2 separate regions of the Homo sapiens genome follow, and region 2 is linked to region 1. The links are contacts of gene promoters, found by promoter capture Hi-C in blood cells and fetal thymus (Javierre and others, 2016). All regions are on one chromosome and are shown on one strand. The core of a region is centred on a gene start or on the middle of the fragment in contact, and the rest is flanking DNA. Distances in the headings are between cores, read along the strand shown.

What was found. Contacts are between HindIII fragments. The CHiCAGO score rates a contact against its expected background, and 5 or more counts as called.
Region 2: a contact is called between the fragment with the promoter of DPH6 here and the fragment with the promoter of NSMCE3 in region 1, in 1 of 17 cell types (total CD4 T cells). The highest score is 5.4, in total CD4 T cells.

Annotation. Positions count from the first base shown.
Region 1 is chr15:29,268,313-29,271,255 of GRCh38, reverse strand. It overlaps NSMCE3 (NSE3 component of SMC5/6 complex), which reads left to right and starts at 1,434. Exons shown (of 1, transcript NM_138704.4): 1 at 1,434-2,943. The coding sequence starts at 1,551. The coding sequence ends at 2,465. All of the region lies in intron 2 of ENTREP2 (endosomal transmembrane epsin interactor 2), which reads left to right. RefSeq lists enhancers at 1,138-1,637, 1,638-2,139. The HindIII fragment of the contact is 8,019 bases long and covers 1-2,943 here.
Region 2 is chr15:35,544,505-35,547,643 of GRCh38, reverse strand. DPH6 (diphthamine biosynthesis 6) reads left to right here and starts at 1,479. Exons shown (of 9, transcript NM_080650.4): 1 at 1,479-1,525. The coding sequence starts at 1,503. DPH6-DT (DPH6 divergent transcript) reads right to left here and starts at 1,449. Exons shown (of 3, transcript NR_038251.1): 1 at 1,171-1,449. RefSeq lists silencers at 1,007-1,056, 1,357-1,496 and an enhancer at 1,544-2,478. The HindIII fragment of the contact is 1,793 bases long and covers 916-2,708 here.

The DNA.
Region 1 (2,943 bases), core at 185-2,684:
TAAAAAAATGAATGCCTTGATAATATATTTGTTTTTCATAGTAGGCCTTTGTCATTAAAATTGATGCCTGAGGATATAGTTGCATCTTGTGTGGAACAGTAAGTTATTACTCATTGCATACCAGATTTTAGCATACTTGCATTAGTTCATGGAATATGATTTTACATTTACTATTGCAGTTCCAGTGCCATTATCAGATTGCATTTTCCTACTGAATTACAAACAAAAGTGTTATGCTACTAACAATTAACAAAATTTTAATAAGGTTGTGTTTGATGCTATTACTCAGATAATGTGTTCTAAATTGCTTTCCTTTGAATATATTTGCATTAAAGAGGAACTCAATTTGGTTCTTTGAAGAGTTTATCCACTTTCTGGGTAGCTTTAAAAAGACACAGGGAAATTCAGTTTCTTCTTTGCAAGTAAATAGAGAAGAAACAAATTTGCTAAGATCTGTAGAAGTCATGGCAGCAGACTGCTGATGGTTTGAGTTAATGAAATGACTCATTTTGGCTACTTGAGTTGCACAATTAAAATATACAGTAGAGACTGTATATCACATCATAGATGAGAGATAAATCCCCCAGTGTTCTCTTTTTTTTCCTCAAAGCTAATATATTATGAATTAAGAAATTTAAGAGCTCCACATTATTGCAATTCTTGATCAGTGATGCCCCAAATTAAGTAGTAATCTCTTGAGAGTGCACGTTTGTTTGCAGCATTCCTCTTACCCATTTCTGCTAAAATTGTGGTTGTGACGAAAGCAGTTGTTTTCCAAAAGATAAACCCATGTGACCAAGCTAAAACATTTACCTAATACTGACACGTTTTTTGTGGTCTTCTCATAGTTGTCTAGCTAAAGGAGTTTAATGCAGAGAATATAAATACGGAAATAGTGAAACTGAAGTCCTGCTTGCGCAGAAAGCCTGCAGCCGACTTTGGTTTTTAACAGACTCCACGGGGCATTAGAGAAAGTAACTGGGGGCAGTGGGATGGAGGGTATGAAATTGGGTGGAGGGACGAAAACTAAGAGCCCTCTGGGTCTTTTATGTCCTTCTACATTTTGTGTAGAAATAAATGTTTTTACTTTACTTCCACGGTCGGCCCTTCCTCTTCACCTTTTTTTTTTCTCACACGTTCATCCTCTGAATTCTTTCCGTTTACAAATGCTCCCGATTTAGAAACTCATAATACTGTCTGTAAAACTTGCCTGAGCCTGTGTGGTCTGAATTTAGCGACACACTTGTTTAGGAGTTTCGGTTCTCGCTCTCTGTTTGCATGGTTTGGTAACAACACTTCACTATACTAAAAATCATCGCCCGGACCTGCAGGGCTGCACGGAAAACGCTGTTCCTTTTGGTACCCGCCGCAGCCGCGCAGGCGCACCGCCCAGCCGCCCTGACGCAAGGCGCAGGCTTCATGACGCAGCACGCAGTCTCAGCCGACACTGCGCGCGCCTCCAGGCACCGGCGTTAGCGGGTCGCCGACCCGCAATCCCCGCCGCGGCTGCTTGCCTACCGGAGTGTGCGCCGGCACCTGCCGCCGGAGACATGTTGCAAAAACCGAGGAACCGGGGCCGCTCTGGCGGCCAGGCCGAGAGGGACAGAGACTGGAGCCATAGCGGAAACCCCGGGGCTTCGCGGGCCGGGGAAGACGCCCGGGTTCTCAGAGACGGCTTTGCCGAGGAGGCCCCGAGCACGTCCCGCGGGCCGGGCGGCTCGCAGGGGTCGCAGGGCCCCTCGCCTCAGGGCGCCCGCCGGGCCCAGGCCGCCCCCGCCGTGGGGCCCAGGAGCCAGAAGCAGCTGGAGCTGAAAGTGTCCGAGCTGGTGCAGTTCTTGCTGATTAAAGACCAGAAGAAGATTCCGATCAAGCGGGCCGACATACTGAAGCACGTCATCGGGGACTACAAGGACATCTTCCCCGACCTCTTCAAACGGGCCGCCGAGCGCCTCCAGTACGTCTTCGGGTATAAGCTGGTGGAACTTGAACCCAAGAGCAACACTTACATCCTCATCAACACCCTGGAGCCTGTGGAGGAGGATGCCGAGATGAGGGGTGACCAAGGCACGCCCACTACGGGCCTCCTGATGATCGTCTTAGGGCTCATCTTTATGAAGGGCAACACCATCAAGGAAACTGAAGCCTGGGACTTTCTGCGGCGCTTAGGGGTCTACCCCACCAAGAAGCATTTAATTTTCGGAGATCCAAAGAAACTCATTACTGAGGACTTTGTGCGACAGCGTTACCTGGAATACCGGCGGATACCCCACACCGACCCCGTCGACTACGAATTCCAGTGGGGCCCGCGAACCAACCTGGAAACCAGCAAGATGAAAGTTCTTAAGTTTGTGGCCAAGGTCCATAATCAAGACCCCAAGGACTGGCCAGCGCAGTACTGTGAGGCTTTGGCAGATGAGGAGAACAGGGCCAGACCTCAGCCTAGTGGCCCAGCTCCATCCTCTTGAAAGGTGGATTCAGAGGGACCCCCGGGACAAGGGTCTGAGACCCAAAGGCACAGTTTAGAGGATTGGGGGAAGGGAGAACGAACCCAGGGAGCATATTGCTGTAAACGCTTCAATGTGTGTAGCTTTAGGATGTGTTTGCAAAGTTTTGTTTTTTTAATGTTGTGTTATTTTGCTCCAGATTTTCATCTATAAACAAAGGAGCATTTGTTTTGATTTTACTCTTTTTGGTATAAAAAATTTTGCTAGCTTAGTAAAACGAATTGGAAAACTTGACTATGATCTGGAACAGATAATGCAAGAAGGAACACATAAGTAAGTTGCTTTGGTGCCAAGAAAATAAAAAAGCTATTATCAGGTCTCCTAACTACCCCAGTTTGTAAGGAAAAATAAAAGTTTTTATAAAATTAAAAAAAATAATTGCCTATATCCTTATTATGTTAACCTATTTTATTTTTCTATATTTCGTACATATATAAGT
Region 2 (3,139 bases), core at 230-2,729, 6.3 Mb before region 1:
AGTCACCCCTACTATTAGAGTTGAGAATGTCAAAATAAAATTGAATGCTTACTATGTACCTGGCATAATTTTAAGTTCCCTACATATATTAACTTACTTAATTCATGCCTTTGGCATCATCCCTCATGACTTTCTTTCTCTTGTATCCCATATCGAATTTGATTCTATTGGCTCTATCTTCAAAATAGAGCTGGAATCCTCTTACTTCTCACCAAATTCACCATGTTGATTCTAGGCTCCGCCATCTCTCTACTGGAACACTGTAACAGCTTCCTAATAGGTGGATTCTCAACACTGCAATCCTTTTAAAATTTTAAGTCACACCCTTCAAAAGTCTGCAATTACCTACAAGACCCTATATAATCCTTCCCCTCCATCACCTTAACCTGCTCTCCACTACTCTCTGCTTTGCTCAATCTGCTCCAGCAACACGGATCTGCCTTAATCTTCCACAAACACACAACGCACCTAGAGCCTTCGATTTTTTTTTCTTGTCTGGAGCACACCCCAATCATACACATAGCGAACTCTCCTTATTTAAATTGGCTCAACTCTCATCTTACCAATAAGGCCTACATAGACACGATTTAATTCTGCAATTTGCCTCTCCACCTCTCTCCTGACTCTCCCCCACCGCACCCCGCCCCTTTCCAATAGCACTTTTCACTCTTCAACAGACTATTTACCTTTAAGATATGTATTGTCTGTTCTCTCCATCCCCATTTAAGCTCTATGCCCGGAATGCCGGGTTTTTGTTTTATTTACGGTTGTATCCACAGAGTCTAAAACAGTGCCTGGTACACGAAAGGCACTCAATACATACTTGGCAAATAAACTTAGAAGCTAGATTTTCTTTCTGCAAGGCCATTGCTCTTTGGTGAAGAGCCTGGCCTGGCCTTGTCAAATACACAAGCTTGACCAAGAGCCAAAGCCACAGAGGGCCTAGAGGTGGGGGGGGCTAGCCCCAGATTTAAAAATTACCACAGCCCCTGGGGATCTGAGTTTCACATCTGGACACACAGGTTTGGAGGACAGAGGAGATGTAAGTTAAAAAGCAGAAGTGTACAGTTGTTTCTGTTCTGTGGGGTGAGGAAGGACAAATTTCTTCTGCGCTTGCACGTCCGCAACTGTGTCAATTTGCAGCAATTGGGACGCTAAATCCCCTCTTACCAAAACAAATCCTGCGCCACTGGGCTTGGGCTCTGCAACGCGGACCTTGCCCTTCCCCCGGCAGCTTCAGTGCCCTCACTTAGGTGGTTAGGCCGTGCCTAAACCTCATTCTTTCCTGGGCCGAGATGTCCCTGCCACAGGGTCAAGGTGCCAAGGTGCCGCACCCTCCGCGCTCAGGTGTCCCGCAGGCAGCCGCGGGGCTCGCAGCGCCGATCCGCGGACAGGCGGCGGAGCGAACACCCGGGCGAGGCCCCGCGGTGCGTCACGCGAGCTGCGGCGCGACCTCCTGGCTCCCGCCCGCGCTCGCCGCACGCACGCGCACTGCGCCCAGCATGAGGGTCGCGGCTCTGATCAGGTAATGCGGTCCTGGAGCCGCCTCCTTCCTCCTAGGCCAGGCTCTCGTCCCTTCCAGCCGCCGCTAGCGCCGAAAGAGTGGGTGTCTCCGTCTGAGTCGCGCGTTGGGGGTTCCGCGGCTCCTCCGAGCCACAGGAAGAGGCGGAGCCTTCGCTGTTGCCGGCCCGCATGTGCCTCGGCCCCTGGCTGGCGCGCCTCCTCCCTGTCTGTCGCTCTCTGGTCTTCTAGCCCTTAAACTTGGATTCCCATTGGATTCAAGTGGGAAATTAAAAAAAGTACCGACGCCTGGGCCCCACCGCCAGAGGGATTGGTTTAATTACTTCTGTGCGACCCGGCGTCTGATTTTTTTTTTTCAAGCTCTAATGAGCCGTGAAGTTTGGAGCCACTACCTTATTCCATCAACTCAGTTAATAACCCTCGCCCTTTCCCCCTCGCTTTCTTCGTCCTCTTCTGTAGTTCCTTTGGTCAGCTGGGTCCGCCGCAGCCTGGCTTCCTCCCTAGTTGTAAGTGTTTCCGCCCATCCCAAGAAGTCCACCCCTCCCTCATCTTCACAGATGTGGATTGCTTATGGCATGTGTGTGTTTCTGCCTTTGGGCACTCAAGTACAGAGATCTCTCTTCGTGGTAGAGACCGAATTGTACTAGTCTTATGCTAGATCCAGTTGCTGTTGCTTCGGACTCTCATCATTGCTTTAGAGTGACCTTACCCTATACTCCGTATTCCAAAAGGAGTTTGATGTCTGTAGTAACCAAATCATAAATTTAAGTGTCTAAATAAGTCCTGTGACTGACAAACCAAAAACAAACCTGCTTAAATATTTCCATACTCAATCTATAAACTGAGGCAGAAGGGAACACACTAGCAACATTAAAAAGTTAGACTACTTAAATACTTGTTTCATGAGATTTTGCCCTGTAGAGTGTCTTAGATACAGTGCAACGATGTGCTTGCTTTTGTAATCCAATTGAAGATTTCATAAACGTTTTCGTTAAGTCCCTTAGGTAATTGATACTGGCTGTAAGTTTTGACCTATTAAGGACTTGATATGAGATTTCAGACCTACTGTAGTGTCTGGAATATTCCGGTTCCCTTTCCTTCAATGTCATTTTTAGGAGACTAGACCATAATGTCACAATAATTATTGTTGTTCAGTAAATGTCCTCTGTAACATAAATGATTAAGCTTTAACCATTGTGTCTTATTTTAAGAATTAAAAGTACCCCAGGAAGTGAATAATTCAAATTTACATCGCTTGCCAAAAGTTTAACGATTAAAGTAAAGCACAACAAACAAAGACTTAGAAGTATTGGAGGGGAGGAGAGAAGATTGGTAGAGTCAGTTACACTAAATAACCTGTAATGTGCATATGTTGCTTTATAATAAAAAAAGTTTGCTAAAAAAGCAATGTTGGAAAATTCTTGCTGAAGCGTAAGAGCTGTAAGGACATATGCTGTAAGTATGAATACGTAAGCATTTACCTGTATGCTTATGATACAGATGCCTATGTATTCTATATATATGCATTATATATAATTATGTATTATAAGTGAATAAGTGAAACTGGGATTCTTACATATCTTTCTAAGAAGATTATTTTCCTTTTTTAAATTTTTTT